Regions from separate parts of the Homo sapiens genome. Here all the other regions are linked to region 3. Evidence: promoter capture Hi-C in 16 types of primary human blood cells and fetal thymus (Javierre and others, 2016). All regions are on one chromosome and are shown on one strand. Each heading gives the region's core, a stretch centred on a gene start or on the middle of the fragment in contact. The rest is flanking DNA. Distances are from core to core; before and after follow the strand shown.

Region 1 (4,594 bases), core at 193-2,692, 260 kb after region 3:
GGCAGAAAGGGGGCGATTGCTGGATGGGCTGGAGGGGTGGAGGCAGGGCCCTTGTCACCTGCATGCCCACATCCACCCTGAACATGAGGGTGGGGGTGAGATGCTCTGGGAGGGGCTAGGGAGCCCCCAGGCTAGGGGCAAGATGGCAGCGACGGCAGCAGGAGGTGTGAGGGGTCGTGGTGGGCAGCCACGGCCTCAGTTAAGGAACCGACGGCAGCGCTTGGCGCCACAGTTGCAGGGCAGCTTGTTGCTGGCATCCTCGATGGGGAACTTGTAGTCGTAGGTGAGCTCCTCACCACGCAGGATGCGGCGCAGGGCGAAGATAACAATGTGTTTCTGGCCCTCCACGTGGATGACCCGAGAGAAGCAGTTGGGCTCACAGGAGTGGTTGATGAAGCGGGCGGCATTGCCATGCATCGTGGCGTCCACTACATCAAAGTCATCCATGCGGAACATATAGCACCCGATGCCCTGCAGGGATGAGGTGGGGAGATCAGGTGCTCTGTCCCCGCGGACAGGCTCGCTTCACCCACTGTCTTCCCACAGCCACTGGGAGCCCACCTTCCCATCGTAGAACTTCTCCCGCTTGTCAGTCAACACCGAGCGGATGACAATGCCAGAGTACTCGATGACCATCTCCCCCGCGTCGATGTTGCGCTTACAGAACAGGCCTCGCCCGTGGATGGCTGATCTGCAGGGCAGGATGAACAGGGAACTCAGGGGGGAGGGGGACAGAAACCAGACAGTACCCCCTACCCAGTGCACCTGTCCGTCCACCCAAGGGGCATCCTCCCCCCCAACCCCACTCACCTGTAGACACCCACAGCTTCTTTGGACGTCTTCTTAAGGTGACGAAAACGCATGGCCATGGGCAGCTCCAGGCTGGTGGCACGTCTGGTGAGGGACAGCAGTGTCACCCAGGCTGGTGCTCAGAATGACCTCTCTCACCCCTGCTCACTCTCTAAGACCCTTCCAGACCACCACCCGCCCCCCAGCTCACACTCCATACCTGGTTGACCTGAGCTGCACCTCATCCTCTTCCTCATCACAGGTGGCCCCCTCAGGGAGCACCCGGTGCTGGGAGGCCAGGAAGTTGAACATGTCAAAGGTGCACTTCCTGCAGGTGGCAGCAGGGGAAGGAGGAATATACTGTTGAAGACAGAGCTAACAGGGAAATGGGTGGGGTTCATTTTTCTGATGTCAGCTCTAGAAATAACTTTTTTAAATTTTTATTTTAGAGATGGGGTTTTGCCATGTTGCCTACGCTGGTCTCCAACTCCTGGGCTCATGCGATCCTCCTGCCTCGGCCTCCCAAAGTGGCGGGATTACAGGCATGAGCCACGGAGCCTGGCTAACTCTAGAAATAACTCTTCAAGTGACCTAGTGTCTCCTCCCCAGGCCTCAGTTTCCAACCTCTACAGTTAACTCCCACCCTCAAGAGCTCTCATAGGGGCGCCCTGACCCAGGCATCACACCCCAGACCTCTCACCGGAGATAGACCTCTGCCCGAGCAGCCCCATGGGGATTCAGGGGCGGCTCCTCCTGGCCCTCTCCCTGCTGGTGGTAACGGAACTTATAGTGCTGGCAACGCTGGGCTCCGGGGAGCTGCTCGGCCAGGAAGATGACAGCATCATGGTGGATGCCCAGGAGTCTCGCCCCACTCATTCCTGAGGGGAGATGTTGAGGACACACCTGTCATGTGGAGGGCCCATGGTGCCCTCGGGGAGACATCCAGCTCCCTGCCCCCTGTGGGGCCCACTCCTTACCACTAAAGGAGAGATGTCTGAGTCGGGCATGCCCTCGGGCCTCTTGCACTTTCTCGATCAGAGTTCTCCACGCCCCTGGGGAGACAGCAGAGCCAGAGCTGAGTCAGGATGGTGTTTTATGGACACTCTCCCTCCTGCCACTGCACTCCCCCCACTCACCCTCCAAGCTCTCTGCCTCAACGCTGAACCCATCCTCACTGCTGATCTCGAAGCGCAGATGTGGGCCAGTCCGTTTTGGGGCCTGGTTCTCTTTATCATCTGGGGATGGAGGCTCTTCCTCAGAGCTCGAAGCCTCACCTGGTCCCAAGAAGCAGGTTGGAGTGAAGATCACCCTTCCCGGACTCAAAAGCCCCTGAGCCCCGCTGTGCTCCCAGCAGACACCACTCTCTCCACCCCTAGGCGCAGACACAGATACTAGGGTCTAATGGCCCTCCTTCTGCTCCAGTTACCCAGTGAGCCCTGCAGAATGGACATTTCTTCCCCTAAGGAGCCTGCGGCTCCTCTTCTGCAGGACTTCTTGGGTACAAAAGCATTCCACAGAGGCTTGGGGCCTTTTGGCTCTTCAGGACACGCCTATGGCTCACTCAAACCCAGTGTACCATACATCCCATCTACCTGTCATTATTCTGTTTCTCACACAAAATTTAAAATACTGGAGAATTGTATTTTGCACATCTATTTTTTTTAGATGCAGCAAATTTCTGTAACTGTTACAAACATAAAATTATCATTTTTTGAGACAAAGTCTCGTTCTGTCTCCCAGGCTGGAATGCAATGGTGTGATCTCGGCTCACTGCAACCTGTGCCTCTCAGATTCAGGCAATTCTCCTGCCTCAGTCTCCCGAGTAGCTGAGATTACAGGCGCCCACCACCACGCCCGGCTAATTTTTGTATTTTCAGTACAGATGGTGTTTCACCATGTTGGCCAGGCTGACCTCAGGTGATCCGCCCGCCTCGGCCTCCCAAAGTGCTGGGATTACAGGCGTGAGCCACTGTGCCCAGCTACAAATATATTATTATATAGGCTCACATGCACAGAGCCAAGTACACTGTATGTTATGAGCTATTTAGGGGATTTCTCGAGGGTTAATAGATTAAACAGGGCAGACGGGATATGCTGACGTAGTAGATGTGGATGTGAAGAAGGGGGATGGGGGTCGGGACAACGCTGGGCTTGAACACCTGGAAGGATAAAACTGCTGTGGACTGAGACAGCGAAGGCAAAAGAAGAATGGGTTTGGCGTGCAGGTGGAGGGCTCAGTTTGGGACAGGCTGACTTTGAGAGGCCTCTTAGAAACCTCCCCCTGCAACCTGCTGGTGGAGATGGTGGGCAGGCAGCAGGACAGGATGGAGGAGGCCACAGTTCAGGGACAGGGTCTAGGCTGGAGAGAGCAATGTGGAGACAATCAGAACACAGACGGGAGGACAGCCACCAAGCTGGAAGGGAGCCCCTGGGAGTGAGCATACACAGAAGTCAAGGCCAGGGTCCCGGGACACATCTAGCCTGACAGCTGTGAGCAAGGAGGCAGGACCAGAGGTGAGAGCAGGAGCAGCCTTGGAAGCCGGGAAGACAATGCTTCAAGGCGGGAGGGATCCGCTGCACCAAACGCTGCTGCTGCTCAAGCAGGTGTGGGCTGGGGACTGACCACTGGGGGTTGGGGGCACAAAAGCTTGAGTGGAACAGGCTTTAGGAGAGGCAAAACCCACATGGCCACACTCTCCCGATGTCACCTCTCCAGGCCACCCTGCCCCACCTCCCCTGCCCCAAGGGAGACTCTAAAGCAACACTCCTGCCGTGTGACTCCCGTCTTCTCCAGGCCTCAGTGCCCCAGAGTCCACCTCTGTCAACTTCTTCCCTGTGTCCCCCAACCCTCACTTCCAGTTTCCCAAACACAGCAGGACTGACCACAGGACCCTGGCAGGTGCTCTCACTGCTCGGTTTCTCAGTGCCCACTCTAACCTGCCCTTGCTAACATGTCTGTGTCCCGCACCAAAATGTGGTCTGATCCCTGAGGACAGGGACCTCCTAAGGCCACTGCCATATTCTCATGTCATCTCTGAGACATAAGCAGCCTCTGAGTTAAGCACTCTCAATCCACGTCACTCTGCTTCCCAGCTCAGCAACTGAGCTGTGTGTCATGAGAAAATCCAAACATCTGGACAGGATTGGGCCACCACAAAATCCCAGCCTCAGGCTGCTCGACCACCAGCTTACCTGGCCGCAGCCACTCCCCCAGCCACTGCCCTCAGGGACCAACAGAAAACTCCACCACTCCACCGCCAGCTTCAAGGAGTCCATCAGCCAAGCCTCCTCCAGGGGCCTCCACCCCATGTATTACAGTTTCTGCATAAACACCTGCTTTCCCTCCTCTCCTTTACCTCAGAGGTCACCAGTTCAAAACCAGCCACCAGGCCTCTTCCCACTGCCTTTTCCATCCCAGCCTGCCCTTCCCTGCCATCCATGGCTCCGCTGTCTTGGCCCTCACACCAAGCACCTCCACGCTGCTCGCCCACCTCCCGCTCCCGATCCTTAGCTGAACTCTGGCCAAGTGCTTGGGCTGTTTTGCCTTCTTCAACCATGGTCTCAATTCTGGACTTGGACACAACGCCCCACCCTGTGCCACCTGCTCTCACTGGACACCAACGCTAGACTCCACAGGCCTGGCAGTCTCTGTGGCAGCTGAGATGTGACGACTCCCTTCCCTGGGCCTCTGGGACACCACTCTTCTGATCTTCCCACTGTCCCTGACCCTCATCTCGGTGCTAGCTGGGCTGCATTCCCTCTAGATGATCCTAGAACTTCACCTTTGGCTACTCTAGGAAGCTCT
Region 2 (4,882 bases), core at 807-3,306, 350 kb after region 3:
TCAGGACTCCAGCTTCGCCCTCCCCGCAGTCTTTGCGGCCCTCTCACCTCGGTGGTTAGTTTTGGGGCATCGAGCCAAACTGGCACGGTCCGACTGCGGGCTCGGTTCGGAGCAAACGGTGAGAGCTGAGCTCTGGTACCGCTTCAAAGAGGTGGTGCCACCCGCATGCAGCCCCGGGTTCCAGGAGGTGGTACAGTCCGGGCCCGCGGGCCCGCCCCACGAAATGGTACAGTCCGTGCGCGGCTCCCCGCCCAGGCCACTGCCCCAGTAGGTATCGCCGTCGGGCCCCACAGAACAGTCCCAGCTGGTGTTGCTCCCGGCGGCCTGGGCGCGCGACCACGAGGTGGCCTCTCCCGCCACGGGGACGCAGTTCTGGCCCGCGGCGCCTTCGGAGCCGGCGGCGGGGATGGGGCCCGGGCCGAGAGGGGCGGGGCCCAGGGTCTGCGAGGCGCCGCTCCAAGAGTCCCAGGCTGTGCACGCCATGTCTGTCCAGTCCCCGGACCACGGAAGAGCCTGAGAGTCGGGCTCTGTGAGGAGTAACGGATCCCGAGTGAGGGGAGCCCAGGTGCCCCCTCAAAAACTCTAGGGTCTAAGCTCTCAACCCTGGCACTTGGGGCCCGGCTGACCCGGATCCAGGTCATGCCACCTTGAGGGCGCAGGTGTTCTCAGTCCTCAAAGATCAGGGAGTCTACACCTCTAGCCCCGGTGCCTCGGGACCCCAGTCCCCACCTCCCACCGCCTCTCCCCACACTCACCCGCCCCCCATGGAACTTCTGGGTGCAGTAACGCGGAGCCCCAGTCCAGCTGTGGGAAGCTTGCCAGGGATGAGCTTGTACCTGAGTTTAGGGAGGACTGTGAGCAATGAAAGAGACCCCTCAACTACCCACTCTCTAGTCTCTACTTGTCAGGGACTGGGAGTTATGGCCCCCCAGCCCGTATTTCAGCACCCCGCGCCCCCTTTTCCTTCACCCTCAGGGGTCAAGCACGCGGCCCCTCCCCACCCAGTCCCAGGAACCTAGGCACGCCCCCCTCCTCCCTTTGCCCTAGGATCCCAGCCTCCCCGCTTCTTCTCCAGCACTTAGGGGTCCCAGCCCGCAGCCACCTTTCCAGCATGTCTCTGCTGTCGCTGTCGGCGTGTCCCCTTGGAGTGCCAGATCAGGGAAACAGAAGCCTAATTTGGCTCCTTCTGCAGGCGATAAGGGGTTAGGGTCAGCAGAGGCCCCACCTGGACACCCTCCCCACACACGTTGTGGCAGCCTCGGCAGCCTACCAAGCCCTGCCAGCTTGTTCCCTGGAGGCACTTCCTGTGGGGATGCCTCATCCCAGTTCCACAGGTCCATGGATGCGATGAAGGCCTTCTGAATGTTCTGGGTCGGGAAAAGTCCAGATGGCAATGGGTGAGCTGGTGACACTTGGAGGCCCTGGAGTCTGGGCCCCAGCCCTAGCTTCCCTCAGAGCCAGGAGTCCAGGCCTCCGCTCCCTCCTTCCCCAGGAGCCTAAAATCTTGGTCCTGGGAGTGAGGGACCCCAGCTCTCTTCCTCTGTTAGACCCAGGAGTCCAGGCCCCCGGCTTCTTGGGAGTCTAGTCCCCCAGGTCCTTCCTAACCCAGACACCCAGGCATCTAGTCCTCAGTTCATCGCTCACCTCTGGCGGGTTCCTCTGCCCCCAGCCGGGGGTCTCAGCCCCATTTCATACCATGCACCCCCTCCCCCAAGGGCCTGGGCAAGGGGGAATTTTCCGAGACGTCAGAGCAGGGGTCGCAGCCAGGCTCAAGTTGCAGAGGCAGGGGCGGGGCCGAGCCTCGACCCCAGCCTCGGGGATAGGTGCTGGCCTCTGGGGCTGCCCTGCTGCAGGGGTGGCGTGGGCTTGGAGCGAGGCTTGGGGAACAGCGGGCTGGGTGAGGGCAGGGCGGAGGCTGGGAGAAGTTTACGGGGTGATGGGGGCGGGGCGGGGGGCTTGGTGAACGGGCTGTCTGCCTCAGGGTCTCGATCCTGCGACATGGGGGGAGTGAGGGGAGAGGGTCTGGGGTCAGCTGGGCTAAGCTGGGCTTATCTGCAACAGGAAGAGGGATTTCCGGCCAGATTCCCCCACCCGCCCCCAGCGTCAGCTGACGTCACAATCGGCAGAGTAACTGCGGGGGCGTGGAGCAGGAGTGAAGGCCCACCCAATCCTCCACCAGGCCCAGTAGGGAGGGCGTCCTGGGGCTGCTTCCCAGGAGTGCCAATCATAGCAATATTGACATCAACAATTTCAACAATAACAATAGTAGCAATAACGGCCAACATTAAATGAGGGCTCATTGTGTGAAACCAACTGTGCCATACCCCTTCATTGAATCCTTCTATGAGGCAAGTACAATACATACTCTCATTTGATGAAGGGGGAAGGTAAGGCAGGCATCCTCCCACTGCTCTCCTTCTCCAGACCCCATGCCCTTCCGCGCTGTAATAGTTTAGGACAATTGGGGAAACTGGAGTATGAACTGAATATGAAATATCATAGAATTCTTTTCTTAGATTTGATAATGGTATTCAGGAGGAAAGATATCATTTAGAAAATGAACTCAGAGATGAAATGTTATAATGTCTGTAACTTGTGGTTGGGCGCGGTGATTCACGCCTGTAATCCCAGCACTTTGGGAGGCTGAGGCGGGTGGATCATCTGAGGTCAGGAGTTCTAGATCAGCCTGTCCAACATGGTGAAACCCTGTCTCTACTAAAAATACAAAAAATTAGCCAGGCGTGGTGGCGGGTGCTTGTAATCCCAGCTACTCGGGAGGCTGAGGCAGGAGAATTGCTTGAACCAGGGAGATGGAGGTTGCAGTGAGCCAAGATCATGCCATTGCACTCCAGCCTGGGGAACAAGAGCGAAACTTCATCTCAAAAAAAGAAACAACAAAAAAAAAGTCTGTAACTTGCTCAAATAATTCAGCAAAAAACAACAAAAAACCACAGCTATACATGTAACATATACATACATACATGAAATATTTAGGACATACCTAAACTATAAAATTGTTCACGTAAAATTCAATAACTGGGTGTCCTATATATATATAAAATATTTTTCGAGATGGAGTCTCACTCTGTCGCCCAGGCTGGAGTGCAGTGGTGCGATCTCAGCTCACTGCAACCTCTGCCTCCCGGGTTCAAGCAATTCTGGTGCCTCAGCCTTCCAAGTAGCTGGGATTACAGGCAAGCACCACCATGCCCGGCTAATTTTTTGCATTTTTAGTAGAGATGGGGTTTTGCCATGTTGGCCAGGCTGGTCTCGAACTCCTGACCTCAAGTGATCCACTTGCCTCGGTCTCCCAAAGTGCTGGGATTACAGGCGTGAGCCACCATGCCTAGGCTAATTTTTGCATTTTTAGTAGAGATGGGGTTTTGCCATGTTGGCCAGGCTGGTCTCAAACTCCTGGCCTCAAGCTATCCACCTGCCTTAGCCTTAGTGCTGTAATTAGAAGCATGAGCCACCACCGTGCCCAGCCATCCTGCTGTATTTTAATAAGTATGTAATATTTACCATTAAAAATAACTTTTGCATATCGGCATCTTCCAGTCCCCAGCCCAGCCTCTTGATCATTAACTACTTGCCGTTCTGGAGAGCGGGTGGCATTGCTCCTCCTTCCATTTTACAGTAAAGTAAACCGGGGGTCCCATGGAGTGGGAGTGGGACTGGGATTGGAATCAGTGTGGGGTAAGCCACAGAGCCCTGGAGCATCACTGGTCCCTCTATCCGTCCAGCGCGGAGGCCTGAAGGGAGTCCTGGCTTCCCATCCTTGAAGCTGGCCTCTTGTCTGTCTCTCCATGTCTCTCTGCCCTCTTTCTTCAGGTTGGCATATCTAAAGCTGGGTCTCTGTTGCCACGGGCCTGACTCCAGTGAGGCTTTGTCACCTGGTCTCTTCTGACATCTCTGTCCCTCCCCATCTGTCTTTGAGTGTTCCTATCTCATCTCCTTGTCCGTCTCCATCTGTCTCTTGGTTTTCTCCCCGTCCCCCTTCCCACTGCACAGTCTCTGATGGTTCTCATCTCTGCCTCTGAGCCTCCTGCTCACAGCGCCATCTCTACCTCTGCTTGCCACATTCTATGTGTGTGTGTCTCTTCTTGTTCTCAGGAAGACTTGTGTGCATTAAAAAAAAAGATAAACATTTAGGGGGTACAAGTGCAGATTCCTTACTGGATATATGTCAGTATATCCAGTATACTGGCCTGGGCCTTTAGTGCACCCGAATGGTGAGCAACGTACCCAACTGGTAACTGTTCAGCTTCCCCCACGCTCCCACCTTTTGGAGTCTGCAGTGCCTGTTACCCCACTCTGCATGTCCACGTGTACCTGCTGTTCTGCTCCCACTTGGAAGTGAGAATCACATGCATTTGGAAGCGTCCTTTCTGGAGCCATCCTCTCTTCCCATCTCCTCCCGTGACCCTATGCTTGCTGTCAGTACAAGGGGGGTCAGGGGTAGAAAAGACTAGTGATGGGGGGAAGGGGCTTTGAGGATCCTGGGGCTGGGTGGTCTGGCCCAGGTGGCAGGGGGCTAAAGGGCACTTCCTGCCAGGGAGGCTCTCACCCTCTGACCAGACTGGAAAATGTGACGTCAGAGAGGGGGCAGTAAGGCGGGGAAGACAGGAACAGGAGAAATTCGACACCTCTCCTGGGGGACCTCGGTCCCTGAGAGGCCTTGGTATTGTCCATCCCCCGACTTATGCCCCACAAAGTCCTGCCCAACCTGCTCCCTCCTAATGGAGGGTTCCGATGGCTGTGTCCCTGGGAGACCCTCCACTCCTCCCCATACTCAAACCTGCCATCTCCCTCCTCTGGCCCAGTCCCTGCCCCAGCCTTCTAGACTTCCAGCCACAGTGGTGGTCGCAGGGCGTTTTTTTTT
Region 3 (4,255 bases), core at 361-2,860:
GGCCCATATGGGGACACCGGAGGGAGTATATCTGTGATCTATGGGGTTCATCTCCCCTCTCCTGCCCCAGGGCCTTGTCGTTCACTGTAGCTGAGGCTGGACCCTTCAGCCAGGTTTGAGAAATTTCCAGGTCTGAGACCCTCACTACTGCCTCAGGGGCTCCGAGCCAGTTCTCAGCTCCACCATTTCCTCTTCCACACAAAGATGTTAAATCACTTGCCCTCCATTAGGGAGCCAACTGGGGTATCTTTGGGGGTTAAGCCAGGATGAGCCCCCTCCACAGATCTGCCCAGGGGAGAAAACTATGCCGCTTCAATCAATGTGCCAGTCTACAGGGCTCCGGAAGGAGTCAGATCCCCACACCTATCACCTCCCAGATGGTCCCTTCCAGGTGTCTGTGTGCGTGTGTGTGTGGTGGCAGGGGGGCTGGGGGTGTTTCAAAAATCCTGAAATATATAAAAGCTTTAAGACCACCAACAGGGAAGTAGACATATCCCCAATTTTATTCCCTTTGTCCAACATTCCGAGAGGGAAGGGGCAAATGAGTCAATGTTGCCCCTCAAAACCATCAAGTAGGGGCCTTTGGGGGTCTTCAGTTGATCAACCAGGGTGATAGACCCCTACCCCTTCCTCATGGTCCTGGCTTGTCACAATTAATGGGGGAAAGTTTTCCAGAAGGGGATTCCGGGCTTCTCACCGCTCATCAGGGCACCTTCCCAAAACGTTCTCAGCAAAAAGTCTGCACTTCTCAGAGTTAAATACAGGAGAGGGGAGACTCCTTGAGGAGCCAGAAGTGGGTATGTTCTCAGGGGTCAAGAGAAGGGCGTCTCAGGCTCTCCCTGTCCACCGGGGGTCGTCCTGGCTCCCCGTACCTTCGGGCAAGTAGCTCTTGGCTTGACACTGTCCAGCCCGCCAGCGTCCCAGGCCGCCCCAAGCCCTCATGGGGGAGGAGCACCGACCTGTCTCCAAGCATCGGAAAAGGCGGGCCTCCCTTGCCGTCCATCACGGGGCTCTCTAGGCCCCCTGCGTCGCCAAGGAGGAGTCTCTGACATCCCCAATTCGTCAAGCTAGTCTCTTAAGACCTCTCACCTTAGGCGGGTTCCCCAGTCCCCCCATGCAGTCAGGCGAGCCTCCTGGCTCCACCACGCCATCGAGCGAGTTCGGCTCTTCGCCTGTCACCGTCCGTCGGGGCGGGTCTCCGGTGCCCCCGTGCTGTCGTGGGGGTTCCTTGGACTGTCGCCGTCGTCAGGCTGGCAACCCACGCCGCCAGGCTCCCCGGTCGGGGCCCGCGGGCGTACGAAGGCGCCCATGGCGGTGGCGTGGCCCGAGCGTAGCAGCTGCAGCTGGCGCCGCCCGCGGCGGTACAGGTACTCGATGCGCAGCACGTCGGACCGCGGCAGGCCCGCATGCTGCCGGAACTCTGCCCGCACTCGCGCCTCGGCGCCCGGCTTCCCACGCCCGGCGCGCAGCAGATCGCGGTACAGGCTCAGAACCTGCCTCTGCAGCCGGCTGTGCCGGCTCATGACCGCGGCTAAGCAGAGACGCTCAGCGAACGACCTGCGAACCGCGGAGCCGCCACACAGCCAGCAAAGGCCAAAGGGCAAAGCCACAGCCACTTCCGCCCAGCGCTTCCCTTGGCCTCCAACTCCCGCCTCCCGCCATCCGGCGCTGCCGCGTCTGACTGGCTGTCGTTGCAGTTACGTAACAGCCGGCTGGGAGAAGTGGGCGGAGTCGCTGGTCGCGGCCTCCCACGTAGGGGACGTGTGTTCTTGAGGGGACAGCAGTTCTGGGGATCCTGGCACCGCCTGGAGGGCGTTATGTGTTCGGACTCCTAGGTCTTGGGTTGGAGGGAACAGAGGGTCCTCACCTAACTCCTGCATTCTGGGAGAAGAGGAAGCTAGGGGTTTTTTTGTGTGTGACGGGGTCTCGCTGTCGCCCAGGCTGGAGTGCAGTGGCGCGATCTTGGCTCACTGCAGCCTCGAACTCCTGGGCCCAAGCGATCCTCCCACCTCAACTCCCCTAGTAGCTGGAACCACAGACGCGCGCAACCGCGCCCGCTATTTATTTATTTATTTATTTATTTATTTATTTATTTATTATTATTATTATTTGCAGAGATGGGTCTCCCTATGTTGCCCAGAATGGCTCGAACTCCTGGGCTCAAACGATTCTCAGCCTCCCAAAGTGTTGGGATTCCAGGCGTGAGCCACCGCGCCCGGCTACCGGTTCGGACTTTGGGTCCCAAGGGCACGGGGCACTGGGAGAGACGCCGGGCACAAGCGTGCTTTTGCCGTCAGTTACTGATTCAAACCATCTTGGGAAGCTCCGTGCGTTCCCTCGTCCGGGGCAGGTCTGTGTCTGGGGTCCCAGCCCTGGGCACGTGCAGAGGGACGAGACCCCGTAGGGAAATGGCTCTCGGCCGGTTGGACAGGCTTCTCGGGCCAGGGGAAGACAAGCAGAGAGAGTGTGGGCGCCAAGCCCCCAGAGGCAGCGTGTGGCTCTAGGAGCTGGGTTGGTCGCGCCCTCTGCGGGTGGGAGTCGGGGCAGTGGACAGCGGTGTTTGGGTCCTTACCGACTGTTAAAGCCCGGAGTCCGGGACACCCTGAACAGTCGACTAGACTGCAACCCCGTTGTCCTCCCAGGAGCTTTAGGTGGTAGGCCGCAATGCCGTTGTTGTCCCCGCGGGCCGCCTGGAGGTGTCCTCGTAGCGCTAGGGAGGCCCGCAAGGACACAGCATCCTCGGGCCCCACCAGCACCGGAGCTTGGGGGACCCCTCCACCCAGCGCGCAACCGCGGCTCTGCACACTTGGGCCGGCAACCAGCTGGGGGGTCCATTCCCCTTCAGAGAGGAGAAGCTGGTCAGGGGCGGGGATTAGGCTTGGAGTCTTGGAGTCAGGGGAGAATCACAAACCACTGTGAATCCTGCCTGGCAGGTGTATGTATCTATCAAAAATACATGTCCTAGAACGGTGGCTCACACCTGTAATTCCAGCACTTTTGGAGGCCGAGGCGGGCGGACCACCTGAGGTCGGGAGATCGACACCAGCCTGATCCACATGGTGAAACTTCTGCCTCTAGGTTCAAGTGATTCTCCCTACCTCAGCCTCCCCAGTAGCTGGAATTACAGGTATGTGCCAGCACACTGGGCTAATTTTTGTATTTTTAGTAGAGGCGGGGTTTCACCATATTGGTGAAACTACAGCCTTGATCTCCTGGGATCAAGCAATCCTCTCGCCTCAACATGTCCAGTGGTTAGGATTACGTGAACATCCCACCACACCCGGCTAATTCTTCTTTTATTGTTTTTTGTAGAGACAGAGTCTCGCTGTGTTGCCCAGGCTTCACTCTGGAATTTTAAATATTTATTTTTTGTTTTGTTTTTAGAGACAGGGTCTTGCTATGTGGCCCAGATTGGTCTTGAACTCCGGCCTCATCCTCCCAAGTAGCTGGGATAATAGGGATGAGCCACCATGCTGGCTTGTACTCTGGAATTTAAACATCTATCTTTTTCCTGTCAAATGACCCTTAATCTCCAAGACAACTATGTCAATCAGCCTAGGGGGACTTTCTTTACTTTCCAGTGGACTCAAGGAGCTGCAAAACCTCAAAGGGAATACTATTGCCTCCTGCCCAGGGCCTGTCAATGGTTTTCTGGTTACAGTCTCTCAGTTTGTCTTTGGGGAACTGGCCCACTCTTATTCTAGGGGATTTCCTGGGTAATATCCCTGCCCTCTGGCTCTGGCTACAGCTCTGTTACATGCCCAGGCCTGGCTACTTAGAGACAAATCAGAATATCCCATCCCCTGACCCCTGTAATTGTTTAGGGATGGGCAAATGACCTCCACTGGGACAATGAGAATCAGACCCGGGACTTCTGTTGAAACTGTGAAGAAAGAAGTGCTGTCTCCCCACTGGGACTGCTAGACTGTACATCATCAACCTGGAGCAGTGGGAGATCACTTCCCGCAGGCAGAGGGGTAGTTTGAAAATGAGGCTGTGGCAGTCTCAGATACCCATTCTCCATTTCTTTCCTAGAATTAGCATTTTTTTTTTTGATATGGAATCTCGCTCTGTCACCCAGGCTGGAGTGCAGTGGCGTGATCTCCATTCACTGCAACCTCTGCCTCCCGGGTTCAAGCGATTCTCCTGCCTCGGCCTTCTGAGTAGCTGGGACTACAGGGATGCGCCACCACATCCGGCTAATTTTTGTATTTTTAGTAGAGACGAGTTTTCGCCATATTGGCCAGGCTAGTCT
Region 4 (4,496 bases), core at 95-2,594, 280 kb after region 3:
ACGAAAAAGACTCAAAGGTCGCGGGTAGTGGAAGAGAGGGTCTCTCCCTAGGGATGGAGGCGCCAGGTATTTCGAACTCCGATCCCCAGTGCCGGACCACACCAGCACAGCCAAAGCCATGGTTCACTGGCCCAAGAGAGAAGACGACAGGGTCTCCTCAGGAAAGGCAGCAGGCCCCATACTCAGATTCCTTCAGAGTCCAATTCAGACCAAAGTGGGACCTCCACTGACACCCTTTCGGGCCACAATTTATTTCTGCATTAAGTTGGGAACAGGGGCCCGCAAGTGAAGGGGCGGGGAGGGCATCAGATGGCTTTCGTACAGGCTCCACTGCGAGCTCTCAGGTTGTTATTAACCGTCCAGGGCAACGCAACCCACACCTTCCTGCCTGTTCTGAAAGGCTGGGGGAGAAATCCTGAGCTGAGCTCTGACCTGCTAGAGTGCCCAGTCCCGGCCTTCATCCCACTCCTGTTCAACCCGAGCCCCAAGAGGAAGCCCTCCACCACTCTACCTGAGATGCCAAGAGAAACTGGGGCCCTGGAGAAACCAGGAGGTTGCGAGGCCCGGCGGGGCGGCCCACAGGTAAGAGCCCAGACAGCTCCAACCTGTCTGCCAAGGCCACGCTGCCGCTGTCAACCACGACTGGCTGGACATGCAGTCCCCACTGCCTCCTCGCCCAAACCTCCACCGCCCTAGCTTTGCCAGCTGCCGAAAAGGATCGGCCCAAGACACTTCAGCGGGACCGACATCGGGCGCGAGTGCCTGGCTGCAGCCGGGGCTTCTCTACCCACTTCCAGAGGCCCTTTCCCCCGGAAGCTGCATGCAGCCGCCCTCCCTCCGTGCCCCGTCTCTCCGAAGGAACCCTGAGGACCCGGCCTGCCCACGCCGCCCCCGGGACAACCCAGACCCCTGGAAGCCCCGGCCTCCGCCCCACCCGGCGCCGGGGACGCCTCCAACCGCCTCACCTCCTCGTCGGATTCCCCGTCACTGCTCTCCTCCTCCGGCACGCAGCCTCGACTCGGGCCCCAGCCCCGGCCCCGACCCCGTCCCCGGCCCCGCTGGACCCGCGGGCCGGCCCACAGGCGGCGGAGCCGGCGCAGGCCCCGGCGGAGCCCCAGCAAACGGAGCAGGGCCGTGTCCTCCCCGGGCTCGGCTCCGCCCGGCCCCGTCGCGCCACCGCCGCGCCGCAGAGCTACCCGCACTCTTTCGGCCCCGTTGCCCCGTCCGCCGCGGCCCCCGCCCCCGCCGGCGCCCCGCGGCCGGCCCGGGAAGCGGCCCCGCGCGGAGCCAGGCCCGGGGCAACTGCCGCCGCCCGCCGCCGCCGCCATCTTGGCACCGTGAGAGGGGCCGGGGAGGCGGGGGGAGGGGCGGCCCGTGCGCAGGGCCGGGGGGAGGGGAGAGAGCGGGGGCGGGGCGGGGCGGCCGCGGCGCACGACAACAACCAGCGCCGCCGCGGGAGACCGGGGGCCGGGCCGGCCACGCGCAGGGCACCACGGGAGAGGGAGTCCGCGGCCGGCCGGCGCCCTCGGACCGCACCTGGGGAGCACAGACCCCCGCGTCGCGGCCGCAGAGGGGCGAACCGCGGGGGCCTCCGGGAAATGTAGTCCGGACGCCTCGCTTCTTCCGCCGGCAGCCAGGGCGCGAGGGCCGGGACGGCGGGGTTCCCGGCCAGGACCCGGAAAGCGGGTTGCCGGGTCTCCGGGAGGTGTGGTCCTAGCCCCAGGCTCCTCCCATTGTTCTTGGCTAGGCCGGCGGCCCGCGTGGACTACCACTCCCAGGGTGCCGCGGGCTCGGGCCCCGGGACCCCCGAGGCCCTGGGAAATGCAGTTCGCGGCTGCAGGAGGCGTGGGCTGGAGAAGGAGCGGTGGAAAGCATAGTCAGTCTCCGTTCCAGGCGCGACCTGGCGGCGGCTTGGCACGGTGTGGAGGGAAGACGCCGGAGAGGCCGCGGTCTCGGGGTCCGTGTGCTCCCGGAGAGGAGGCGGGTGGCCGAAAGCAGGGTCGGAGCACGCGTTCCTCTCTCTCCCGGGCCGAGCGTTCCCAGATCAGACTCCGCGCGCCGTGGATTGCAGTGGAAGGGGCGAGTGACTTGCGGTCGCACAGCCCCCACCAGTCCAGGACCGGCATGCCGCAAGGTGTGCCCGGACACCGAGTCCTCGGGGCCGGCTGCCTCCTGGGGAGGACGGGGCGCCTCGGGGGTGGAAGAAGTGTCCATCCCGCTGGACAGCGGACGCAGGGCCACCAGGGGCCGCTACAGGACAAGGGGCGTGGGCGGGGGTGTGCACAGACTAAACTCGGCTTTCTAGTCCTGAAGGGAGGGCACAGGAAACTCTTTATTATGGTGATGAGATCGACAATCTCCCCTACTGTTAACCTTCGCTCCTGCACACTTCAGTGTCCTCACTCTGTAGGGCTCGCTGGCCTGGGCTTCTGCGACCCGCGATCGTCCAGGAGAGGGCACTCGGCGCCCTTCCTGGGGCGCTTCTGGGGCGGAATTTGCTAGGCCGCCGTAGCAGCGGTGCCAGGTCAGAAGCCGAGCCGGCCCGCTTTTCGTTCTTTAATTGGACTCTTGGCTAAGACGCTACCGACACCCCGTCAGGTGGTGGAGGAAGAAGGACAACAGGGAGAGGTCGAGGGCCGAGACGGCCTCGAGGAGGAGTAGAGGAAGGTGGAGCGGATGGTCCATCCGGGCGGGAGTTGGCTGGGCGAGTGACCGCGCATGTGCGCCTGCATGGAGGCCAGGCTGGGACAGCCGGCCCCGCACAGGGAGCAGCGGTACGGAGCGGCCCCGTGTGTCCGCAGGTGCTTGGTCATGGCCGAGAAGTCCCGGGAGCGCTGAGGACAAAGGCTACAGGAGAAGGGCTTCTCTCCTAGAGCGGTCGGAAGGGGAGGCCGGTGAAGGAAGGAAGAAGGCGGCGAAAGCTGGCCAAGTTAGGGGTGGATCGGGCCACGGGGCTAGGGGATTGCGCGGGAACCGGGCACACAGGTGGAGACTCAGGAGCGGAGTTGGGAAGAAAGCCGACAGTTCACACAGGGCAGGGCGCCCATACCTGTGTGGACTCGGTAGTGCGTCTCCATCTGATGCTTGAGTGAAAACCTCTTTCCACAGACAGAGCACGCATAGGGCCGAGACCGAGCAGGAGGGGCCGGGGGAGGGTGCGGGCGAGGTGGGCAGCCTGCCTTGTCCTCATGACCCGCACAGGTTGCAAGTGCGCCTGTGGGGACAGAGAAGGCAAAGGAGGGCAGGGCCAGGAATCCCAGCGCCAACTCACTGTACCATTCAGGCAGGAAATCAAGGGCTACAGTGGGGCTGAGGCACGAGTGCCCCCGCCCGACTCACCTGTGTGCCCCTGATCAGACTCTTCCATCTCCCCAGGGCTGAGCTGTGCGGGGCCCTGGGGGAGGGAACCTGGAAGGAACAGTGGGAGGTAGGGGCCCTGCTCAGGCTGGACTCCTCGAGCCCCAGCCCAGAGAAGACACCATGTTACAGGTGTATGCAGGACAGCGAGGGGCTTACCTGGGGTAGGGCTGGAGGAGGCCAACTGGTTCTGGCTCCAGAGCCCTTTGGGGGCATTTAGGGACAGTGGGATCCTGGGATGGGGTGGGGAAGAGTTACAGCCTTGGCTAAACCTGGGAGCCTGGCCCCTTCGTGAAGAGGGGGTATCCCAAGTCCTCCCCCGGGGGCTGGGCTTTGGCGTGCCCTGTGGCAGCAGCTTCTTGTCTCTTCCCCAGCTCAGGAACTGTGCAGTAGAGATGCAGTGCCCTTCCACCCAGCAGGGCTGCCCCTCCTGGGCCATGCCCTCCCAGCCTGGAGGCAGAGCACTAGACCCCGCCACTCACCTCTGTTCCCGCCAGACCTCCTGCCAGGCTCCAGTGGTGGGGGTGCTATGGTAGAAGGGAATGCCATATCTGGGCGGCATCAGCAGGATGCTCCACAGGGCAGGCTGGCCCCCCACCAACCAAGGGGCCTCAGCCCACGAGGGCCTAGGGGTGACGCTGGTTTGCAGGGAGCCTGCTGGGGGAAGGGGGCCAGGGAGCTTGCGCAGACTTTCCTCAGAGCCCCCTGGATTTTCCCTCAACCACGTGAGCACTCCATGCTTCCCATCTGCTCCCCTTTGGCCAACAGGGGCTTGGAGGCGTTTCTCCTTTGACCTGGTCTGTTCCTGCTGAGCCTCCTGCGTTGCTCCTGCCATCTCGGGTCTGCCTCTTGGTGGCGAGTGCTTGTGCAACATCTCCTGTTCTCTCCCACCAGTTCTAGAAACCTGTTCTGGTTTCTGCTTCTCTCCAGGGTCCCCCAGTTCTCTCTCAGGATTCCTTGAGGGTTTCTCTGGCTCCTCCTGATGTTTCTTCAGGCCTGGATCTGGCTTTTTAGCCCTGTCCCCTCGAGCCCTCCAGCATGCCTCTTCCAGGGACTGCACTCCCAAGGCCCTGGCCGCCTCCTGAAGGGGCCTTAGCTCTCCAGGCTGCAGCTCTACACTCTCCCCATACACAAAGTTC
Region 5 (4,389 bases), core at 482-2,981, 300 kb after region 3:
TAGATCTGTTGGGTTAAGTGACAAGTCCCTAGCTAGACTCAAGAAGGCACTGGAGAGCTATGGTCCTGCCACTGTACTCCAGCCTGGGCGACACGGTGCGATTCTCATTTTCTCTCTCTCTCTCTCTCAGACAAAGTCTCCCCCTATTGCCCAGGCTGGAGTCCAGTGGTGCTACCATAGCTCACTGCAGCCTCGAACTCCTGGGCTCAAGTGATCCTCCTGTCTTGGCCTCCCAAAGTGAGGGATTACAGGTGGGATTACAGGTGTGAGTCACTGTGCCTGGCTGAGACCCCGTCTTTTAAAAGAAAGGGGAAGGGGGAGGAGAAGGGGTAGGAAGAAGGAGGAGGAGGAGGAAGAAGGCGGAGGAGGAAAGAGGAGGAGAAAGAGAAAAAAGGAGGAGGGAAGAGGAGGAGGGTGAAGGAAGGAGAAGGAAGAAGGAGGAGAAAGGAAGAGGGATGAAAGAAAAGAGGAGGGAGGAAGAGGAAGAGGGAGGAGGAGGAGGAAGGAAGAGGAGGAGGGAGAAGGAGGAGGGAGGAGGAGGGAGGAGGAGGAGGGAGAAGGAGGAGAGGGTGGCAGTGGAGGTCACTCCCTATAATGTGGAGCATAGCAGCCACCTGCTGGTCACAGCGCAGTAGGAAGAACACAAAGCCCTGGAGTGAGGCAGAGGGGCCCTGGCTCCTCAGTGGCTCTCCAGCGCCCTCTATTGACAAAGCCTAACCTGGCACCAGATGACAAATGGAACTGAGAGGTAATAAATTGATAACCCACAGGTAAGTGATGGGGCCCCTGCTATTAATAAAAACAACAGTAATAATAACGACTACCATGGAATTCTCAGTGCTGTCTGTGTCATTTATCCCGGAATCGCTGGTGAAGGTTGATGGGGAGGGGGGATTGTGGTCCATTTGCCTCCAGGGTCGGCTCACCCTTCCCTAGGCTCAGGCTTAGGGTCTGAGCCTGCTCTGGGCAAGCACCCTCTCCCTCCTCCCAGACCAGACCCTATAGATGGAGCTGACTCCATCCCTGCTCCAAGGGCAGGCGTGTGCCCCGGAATCTGCACTTTCCCCAGCCCCACACGTGATGGCACAGCACAGTGTCAAACCTAGACAATGAAAAACATTCCAGAGGGGGCACCAGGCCCTCTCACCGTTTTTTGCTTTGTTTTGTTTTGTTTTTGTTTTTTGAGATGGAGTCTTGCTCTGCCACCCAGGCTGGAGTGCAGTGGCACGATCTTGGCTCACTACAACATCCACCTCCCAGGTTCAAGTGATTCTTCTATCTCAGCCTCCTGAGTAGCTTGGATTACAGGCACATGCCACCACATCTAGCTAATTTTTGTATTTTTAGTAGAAACAGGGTTTCGCCATGTTAGCCAGGCTGGTCTCGAACTCCTGACCTCAGGTGATCTGCCTGCCTCAGCCTCCCAAAGTGCTGGGATTACAAGTGTGAACCACCATGCCCAGTCATCTTTTTTTTTTTTTTTTTTTTGAGACTGTTATCTGGGCTGACAGAGTCAGTGGTGCCATCTTGGCTCACTTCAGCGACGACTGCCATACTCAAGTGATCCTCCTGCCTAAGCTTCCTGAGCAGCTGTGATGCAGGTGCTTGCCACCATGGCCAGCGATTTTTAAAAATTTTTTTATTGTTTTGTAGAGACAGGGTCTCACTATGTAGCCTAGGCTGGTCTCGAACTCCTCAAGCGTTCCTCCCGCCTTGGCCTCCTAAAGTGCTGGGATTACAGGCGTAAGCCACCGCGCCCCCCCGCCCGGCTAGGTTTTTGTTTTGTCTTTCATTCTTTTATTTTTCTCCTTAGCACTTATTAGCCTCTAACATGTGTTTTTCTTATTGGTTTTATCTATTTTCCCCTCTAGAAGGTAAGCTTTATTTATTTATTTATTAAGCTCTTTTAAATCTGGGAAGAGTTCCTGTAAGCTTTATTATCTGATTCCCAGGAAGCTTGTAGCCATTTTTCTAACACCAGCCAAGGACGCGGGGACCAGAGAGGAGGAATTGGTGGGCGTGGGACACCTGAGGAAAGGGCAGGGGTGTGTGTTTTTACGTTTTAGTTAAAAAAAAAAAAAAAGAACCAACTTGCCCTCATGGAAGGAGTGTAAGCAAAAGTGGATGTAGTCAGAGGCATGTGCCTGGCTTGATTGCTATATAACACAGTTTCTTATTTCCATTCTGTGATCTCAGATGGTGAGAGAGAGAGCTTGGCTCAGTGGAGCAAGAGAGAGAAAGAGATACCTGGAGAGGTGGCAAGGGGCCAAGCCACACGGGCCCTCAGTGCGAGGTGAGGAGGGCGCTGGAGAGCCGTGGAGGGTTAGAGGCTGAGGAGGGATGCAGTCACCTGGGGTGTGGGGGGAACAGCCATCAAATGGCTGCCTGTCCCTCAAGGGGTCCGGGCCCTGACATAGCCCTGACCTCTTTGCTCCCCTCTTACCCACAGGAGCCGGCCTCTGAGTTTGGGGGCTGGGGCGGACAAACCTGTCCTGCAGGCAGGCCCGCCTGGGTGAGGCCACGCTGCTGCCGGTCTGACTGAGCCACACTCTGCAGGTATATGGTAGGATGGAGCCCGAAAGCCAAGTGGCAGATGTGGGTCAGAGATGGCGGCCTACCTACCTGACTGCCCAGAGGTCAGAGGTCAGGTCAAACCCCGGCCTCCCATCTAGCAAGTCCTGGCCTATTATTATTATTATTGAGACGGGGTCTTGCTATTGCCCAGGCTGGAATGCAGTGGCACCATCACAGCTCACTACAGCCCCTACCTCCTGGGTTCAAGCGATCTTCCCACCTCAGCCTCCCGACTAGCGGTTACTACAAGTGCGCACCACTATGGCCAGCTAATTTTTAAATTTTTTGGAGAGATGAGGTCTCACTATGTTGGCCAGGCTGGTCTGGAAATCCTGGCCTCAAGCAATCCTCCTGCCTCAGCTCCCAAAATGCTGGGATTACAGGCGTGAGCCACTGTGCCCAGCCCTGACCTGTCTTACTGAGAGGTGACAGCGTGCTGGCAGTCCTCACAGCCCTCGCTCGCTCTCGGCGCCTCCTTTGCCTGGGCTCCCACTTTGGCAGCACTTGAGGAACCTTCAGCCCGCTGCTGCACTGTGGAAGCCCCTTTCTGGGCTGGCCAAGGCCGGAGCCGGCTCCCTCAGCTTGCGGGGAGGTGTGGAGGGAGAGGCGCAGGCGGGAACCGGGGCTGCGCGCGGTGCTTGCGGGCCAGCGCCGAGTTCCGGGTGGGCGTGGGCCCGGTGGACCCCGCGCTCAGAGCGGCCGGCCGGCCCCGCCGGCCCCGGGCAGTGAGGGGCTTAGCACCTGGGCCAGCAGCTGCTGTGCTCAATTTCTCGCCGGGCCTTAGCTGCCTTCCCGCGGGGCAGGGCTTGGGACCTGCAGACCGCCATGCCTGAGCCTCCCCTCTCCCCGTACCCCGTGGGCTCCTGTGCGGCCTGAGCCTCCCCGACGAGCGCCGCCCCTGCTCCACGGCACCTAGTCCCATCGACCACCCAAGGGCTGAGGAGTGCGGGCGCACGGCGTGGGACTGGCAGGCAGCTCCACCTGCAGCCCCAGTGCGGGATCCACTGGGTGAAGCCAGCTGGGCTCCTGAGTCTGGTGGGGAGGTGGAGAACCTTTATGTCTAGCTCAGGGATTGTAAATACACCAATCGGCACTCTGTATCTAGCTCAAGGTTTGTAAACACACCAATCAGCATCCTGTGTCTAGCTCAGGGTTTGTGAATGCACCAATCGACACTCTGTATCCAGCTACTCTGGTGGGGACTTGGAGAACCTTTGTGTGGACACTCTGTATCTAGCTAATCTAGTGGGGACATGGAGAACCTTTGTGTCTAGCTCAGGGATTGTAAACGCACCAATCAGCACCCTGTCAAAACAGACCACTCGGCTCTCTGTAAAATGGACCAATCAGCAGGATGTGGGTGGGGCCAGATAAGAGAATAAAAGAAGGTTGCCCGAGTCAGCCGCGGCAACCCGCTGGGGTTCCCTTCCGTGCTGTGGTAGCTTTGTTCTTTTGCTCTTTGCTATAAATCCTGCTGCTGCTCACTCTTTGGGTGCATACTGCCTTCATGAGCAGTAACACTCACCGCGAAGGTCTGCAGCTTCACTCCTGCCTGAGCCGGCGAGACCAGGAACCCACCAGAAGGAAGAAACTCCGGACACATCCGAACATCGGAAGGAACAAACTCCAAACACGCCACCTTAAGAGCTGTAACACTCACCGCGAGGGTCCGCGGCTTCATTCTTGAAGTCAGTGAGACCAATAACCCACCAATTCCGGACACCTTAACTGCTCAGATAAAGTTTGAAAATATTTAGTAGGATAATTCTCTTCTCAATGTACATTTTATGTCCAGCAGGGACATTTTAACTAAGA
Region 6 (4,925 bases), core at 1,924-4,423, 390 kb after region 3:
AGTGGTAACAGCACAGTGCAGGTGGACAGTCCCAATGTCCCATTGTTATGCTGGTGCTCAGCAGATGGTGAAGAACCTCCAGGCATGCCCCACAGCGGTCCCTGCTGCCTGCTTCCTGGCTGGGGTAGGACACACCCCTGTGACTTCCTTTCCTGCTATGTCTCTGCCCATCCTGCCCCAAACACACATGTAGATATGACCGGGTCTCAGACTGCAAAGTCAAGAGAGAGGAGGAAGTTCTCAGTAACATGCAAGGCGTGCCCTACCGCCATGATTTGGAAAGTTTCACCAGTCTCTGCTTTGAGAAGACTTGATCTGTCCCTGTGATTTGGTCACAATTGCCTTTGGACTGAGACACCACCAAAGGACAATGGATGGCCTGCACCCCCAGGAGCAGTCACCCGGGGTGCCTGTCTGGGCAAGTCTCATTCTCATTGCTACCTGGGCTTTCTCGTTTGTTTGTTTGTTTGTTTGTGAGATGGGACCTCACTCTGTTGCCCAGGCTGGAGCCATGGCCCGATCACGGCTCATCACATGCTGGAACTCCTGGGCTTAAGTGATCCTCCTGCCTCAGCCTCCTTAGTAGCTGGGACTTGAGCCAATTCTCCCAGCTAGATTTTTTTCAGTTTTAATTTTTTGTAGAGACGGGGTCTCGCTATGTGGCCCAGGCTGGTCTCAAACTCCTGGCCTCAAGCAGTCCTCTCACCTTGGCCTCCCAAAGCACTGAGATTACAGGCATGAGCCATTATACCTGGCCACTTTCTGCTTTTATTTATTTATTTTTTTTGTGACAGAGTCTCCCTCTGTCGCCCAGGCTGGAGTGCAGTGGCACAATCTCGGCTCACTGCAACCTCTACCTCTTGGGTTCAAGCAATTCTCTGCCTCAGCCTCCCAAGTAGCTAGGATTACAGGCATGCACCATCATACCCGGCTAATTTTTGTATTTTTAGTAGAGACGGGGTTTCACCATGTTGGCCAGGCTGGTCTCAAACTCCTGACCTCAAGTGATCCACTTGCCTCAGCCTCCCAAAGTGCTGGGATTACAGGTGTGAGCCACTGCACCTGGCCTCACTTTCTGCTTCTTATGCTCAATGTCTCCTTGTTTTGGAGACATGTCACCATTTGTCCTTTTCTTGGTTCCTTTCTCATGGTATCTGTTCTGTTGGCCTTGGTGGGAGGTACTGGTGCCTTCCTGCTTTCTTAGATCCTGAAGGAGCAGAGCCCCTGTGGCCTCTTGGTCTTCTTCTGTCAGCATCTCTCTCCCTTTGCTTTATCTGAAATCTCTTTTCTGTTTTTCTGGATAATTTCAGGATGCTTTTTGGAACCCATCCACCATCTGAGAGATAATAAGAAGCTTCTCTAGGACTTGTGATTTTGGTTTCAGCAGCTCCTTCCACGTTTGAGAAGAGTCTTCTCATTTCTTACTCATAGAACATCCCATCAGACATTTCTCCTGATCCACATAGTAATTCAGGGATCCAGGCTTCTTCCATAAGGTGATTCAACCATCTTCTATGGGCTCAGAGTCTTTTGAATCCAGGCAGAAGAGAGAATAAGGAACTCGCACCTGCTTCTTGAAAGTCTTCACCCTAAAGTGACATACATCACTTCTGCTCTCAGTCCATTGAACATAACTTGTCTTATGGCTTCAACTAGCTGCAAGGGCCTCTGGGAAATGTAGTCCTGGTCTAGGCAGTCAATAAACATCCTGCTGGCTCTGCCACAGAAGGCCTTTCTAAGATGTTCTTTGAGCTGAGACGTGAGAGCCAAAGTGTGAGAGCTACTTGAAAACTGTGAAAATGGAGTTCCCAAAGTGGGAACAGCAAGTGGAAAGACCCTGATGCTGGAATGTGCTCAAAGGAACAGTAAGAAATGAGCTTCTGGCTGGGCGTGATGGCTCATGCCTGTAATCCCAGCACTTTGGGAGGCTGAGGCAGGTGGATCACCTGAGGTTAGGAGTTTGAGACTAGCCTGACCAACATGGAGAAACCCCGTCTCTACTAAAAATACAAAAAAATCAGCCGGGTGTGGTGGTGCATGCCTGTAATCTCAGCTACTTGGGAGGCTGGGGCAGGAGAATCGCTTGAACCCAGGGGGCAGAGGTTGTTGTGAGCTGAGATCGTGCCATTGCACTCCAGCCTGGGCAACAAAAGTGAAACTCCGTCTCAAAAAAAAAAAAAAAAAGAACTTTTATTTTGTGAGCTACTGAAATGGTGGGGTTTATTTGTTATAGCAGCTAGCATGACTCTAAATAATATACCTTGTAGACATCATTGCCCACTAGCTCAGTGTATCTCAAACTACTTGTAACTATGGAGAAGGATCATTTGTTTGATGTTTCCAACCTGTCATGGACCAATCCTTTTGGTCTCTACCCTGTTCAACAAGAAAATCCATTGATCCTATACTTGGATGTCATGGATATGTCAAATTGCTGTGTTTCTAAACACTTGCTGGCAATTTCCGTACTTATCTGGTGGCACACCATTGCAGACACCAGCTCGGTTGGGGAGACCCTAACCCACTGGTGCTAGAGGAATTAAACACACACACACAGAAATATAGAGGTGTGAAGTGGGAAATCAGGGGTCTCACAGCCTTCAGAGCTGAGAGCCCCGAACAGAGATTTACCCACATATTTAGTAACAGCAAACCAGTCATTAGCATTGTTTCTATAGATATTAAATTAAAAGTATCCCTTATGGGAAACGAAGGGATGGGCCGAATTAAAGGAATAGGTTGGGCTAGTTAACTGCAGCAGGAACACGTCCTTAAGACACACATCGCTCATGCTATTGTTTGTGGCTTAAGAATGCCTTTAAGTGGTTTTCCACTCTGGGCGGGCCAGGTGTTCCTTGCCCTCATTCCCGTAAACCCACAACCTTCCAGCTTGGGCGTTAGGGCCATTATGAACATGTCACAGTGCTGTGGAGATTTTGTTTGTGGCCAGTCTTGGGGTCAGTTTATGGCCATATTTTGGGGGGCTTGCTCCCAACACCATAATAGTTGCTGGACCAGTCCTGGCACCACTTTAGCTTCTTATTCTGTTTTATTTTTCTCTATAGCATTTACCATTCCCTGTAATTATCTTGTTTATTTTTGGGTATACTTGTTTATAGTTTTCTTTCCCACTAGAATGTAAGCTCCATCAGAGAAGAAGTTGGCCTTACTTCTCTTGCTCCGTTGTGTTCCTCGTTCCCAAGACAATGCCTGGGACACAGTAGGTGCTCAGAAAGTATTTGTTAAATAATGAGTATTTGTTAAATAAAAATCATGGCTGGGAACAGTGGCTCACGCCTATAATCCCAGCACTTTGGGAGGCCAAGGCAGACAGATTGGTTGAGCTCAGGAGTTTGAGACCAGTCTGGGCAGCATGGCAAAACCCTGTCTCTACAAAAAATATAAAAATTTGCTGGGCATGGTGGCATGCACCTGTAGTCCTAGCTACTCAGGAGGCTGAGGCATGAGAATCACTTGAACCTGGGAGCCAGAAGTTGCAGTGAGCTGAGATTGTGCCACTGCATTCCAGTCTGGGTGACATAGTGTGACCCTGTCTCAAAAAAAAATTTAATAAAATGAAATAAAAATAACAAGGAGGGTGGGGGGAAGGAGGCAATCCATATCTGTTACAGAGGCTCTCTACAATCAGAACCTGACCAGAACTCTAACCAGTTTGTTAACAGCCATTGAGATCCCCTCAAGAGCTGTGGTTTTTTGATAGACCATGGTAGCTCAGATTAGATGTCAACTGAAGAATCATGAGGTTTTGATATGGTTTGGCTGTCCCCACCCAAATCTCATCTTGAATTGTAGTTCCCCAAATCCCCATGTGTTGTGGGAGGGACCTAGTGGGAGGTAATCGAATCATGGGGGTGGTTACCCCCATGCTGCTGTTCTTGAGATAGTGAGTTCTCACGAGATCTGATGGTTTTATAAGGGGCTTTTCCCTCTTTGCTTGGCACTTCTCCTTCCTGCTGCCATCTGAGGAAGGACGTTTTTGCTTTCTTTTCCACCATGATTTTAAGTTCCCTGAGGCCTCCCCAACCCTGCGGAACTGTGAGTCAATTAAACCTCTTTCCTTTATAAATTACCCAGTCTTGGGCAGTTCTTTTCAGCAGCGTGAGAACAGACTAATACAGGTTTACAAATTTGGAAAGGAGAGCTTTATTTCTCATAAAGAGTTGCAGCCTGCAGCCGGGCCATCTCACAGGCCGAGAAGTGTAGCCTCCGGTAGAAGCTGAGAGCAGGCACCTCCAGTAAGGGAAGGATAAGGTCAGAGTTAACGCTGAATGGCTTGGCTCAGTATACATATTCAACAGGTTATAGGAGGAGCTATGAATATTCATGAAGGGAAGGTACAGCACATGTGTAGTAACATCCCATATTCACTTTTTTTTTTTTTTTTTTTTTTTTTTGAGATGGAGTCTTACTCTGTCACCCAGGCTGTAGTGTAGTGGTGCGATCTCAGCTCACTGCAACCTCTCTTTCCCAGGGTTCAAGCAATTCTCCTGCCTCAGCCTCATGAGTAGCTGGGATTACAGGCACCCATCACCATGCCTGGCTAATTTTTTTATTTTTAGTAGAGACAGGGTTTCACCATGTTGGCCAGGCTGGTCTCAAACTCCTGACCTCAGGTGATCCGCCCACCTTGGCCTCCCAAAGTGCTGGGATTACAGGCGTGAGCCACCGTGCCAGGCCCCATGTTCACTTTGGAGTGGAGACTTAACACTTAAATGTATTACAATTAGGCCCTATACATCAAAAGGTGATGCAGAGGACACAAAGGCCCTTTGTGTGCAGCCTCTGTAGACTGGCCAGAGCCACACCCCGTGGTTAGGTGGCCTCTGATCAGGAAGGAATGCTGGTCAGTTGTTATGTTGAAACCACAAAAGGGAGGAGCAGCCATGTATTTCAGGCCATTGGTT

Evidence for each region. The method cuts DNA at HindIII sites, captures the fragments that hold promoters and counts their contacts. A CHiCAGO score of 5 or more calls a contact.
Region 1: a contact is called between a fragment that was not itself captured here and the fragment with the promoter of SDHAF1 in region 3, in 2 of 17 cell types (neutrophils and fetal thymus). The highest score is 6.4, in neutrophils.
Region 2: a contact is called between the fragment with the promoter of ETV2 here and the fragment with the promoter of SDHAF1 in region 3, in 8 of 17 cell types (neutrophils, erythroblasts, naive B cells and 5 more). The highest score is 7.2, in neutrophils.
Region 4: the fragment with the promoter of KMT2B here is called in contact with the fragment with the promoter of SDHAF1 in region 3 in 7 of 17 cell types (M2 macrophages, activated CD4 T cells, M1 macrophages and 4 more); the score reaches 7.2 in M2 macrophages.
Region 5: a fragment that was not itself captured here is called in contact with the fragment with the promoter of SDHAF1 in region 3 in 13 of 17 cell types (erythroblasts, fetal thymus, activated CD4 T cells and 10 more); the score reaches 11.0 in erythroblasts.
Region 6: a contact is called between a fragment that was not itself captured here and the fragment with the promoter of SDHAF1 in region 3, in 3 of 17 cell types (neutrophils, erythroblasts and activated CD4 T cells). The highest score is 7.0, in neutrophils.

What each region holds. Positions count from the first base shown.
Region 1 is chr19:35,734,159-35,738,752 of GRCh38, reverse strand. It overlaps KMT2B (lysine methyltransferase 2B), which reads right to left. Exons shown (of 37, transcript NM_014727.3): 31 at 1,926-2,063; 32 at 1,767-1,841; 33 at 1,490-1,667; 34 at 1,010-1,117; 35 at 811-894; 36 at 562-691; 37 at 1-471. The coding sequence ends at 196. Among named protein-coding and RNA genes, the nearest start is that of IGFLR1, 6.0 kb to the left of the region's middle. The HindIII fragment of the contact is 3,993 bases long and covers 1-3,438 here.
Region 2 is chr19:35,638,919-35,643,800 of GRCh38, reverse strand. It overlaps ETV2 (ETS variant transcription factor 2), which reads right to left and starts at 2,056. Exons shown (of 7, transcript NM_014209.4): 1 at 1,645-2,056; 2 at 1,271-1,367; 3 at 1,103-1,186; 4 at 756-836; 5 at 48-527. The coding sequence starts at 1,340. RefSeq lists a silencer at 252-531 and an enhancer at 1,185-1,900. The HindIII fragment of the contact is 4,460 bases long and covers 817-4,882 here.
Region 3 is chr19:35,992,543-35,996,797 of GRCh38, reverse strand. SDHAF1 (succinate dehydrogenase complex assembly factor 1) reads right to left here and starts at 1,610. Exons shown (of 1, transcript NM_001042631.3): 1 at 486-1,610. The coding sequence starts at 1,523. The coding sequence ends at 1,176. RefSeq lists silencers at 1,154-1,273, 1,304-1,363 and enhancers at 1,424-1,503, 1,764-1,813, 2,148-2,647. The HindIII fragment of the contact is 4,511 bases long and covers 465-4,255 here.
Region 4 is chr19:35,714,851-35,719,346 of GRCh38, reverse strand. KMT2B (lysine methyltransferase 2B) reads right to left here and starts at 1,344. Exons shown (of 37, transcript NM_014727.3): 1 at 966-1,344. The coding sequence starts at 1,328. It overlaps ZBTB32 (zinc finger and BTB domain containing 32), which reads right to left. Exons shown (of 7, transcript NM_014383.3): 3 at 3,840-4,496; 4 at 3,517-3,590; 5 at 3,340-3,408; 6 at 3,050-3,214; 7 at 2,309-2,869. The coding sequence ends at 2,595. RefSeq lists silencers at 910-959, 1,010-1,089, 1,130-1,199, 1,220-1,269, 1,350-1,829 and enhancers at 555-1,112, 2,400-2,679, 2,232-2,791. The HindIII fragment of the contact is 14,363 bases long and covers 1-4,496 here.
Region 5 is chr19:35,690,228-35,694,616 of GRCh38, reverse strand. No RefSeq gene overlaps it. Among named protein-coding and RNA genes, the nearest start is that of ZBTB32, 12 kb to the left of the region's middle. The HindIII fragment of the contact is 301 bases long and covers 1,581-1,881 here.
Region 6 is chr19:35,605,189-35,610,113 of GRCh38, reverse strand. HAUS5-DT (HAUS5 divergent transcript) reads left to right here. Exons shown (of 2, transcript NR_186318.1): 2 at 1,311-1,725. Among named protein-coding and RNA genes, the nearest start is that of HAUS5-DT, 5.0 kb to the left of the region's middle. The HindIII fragment of the contact is 3,634 bases long and covers 1,357-4,925 here.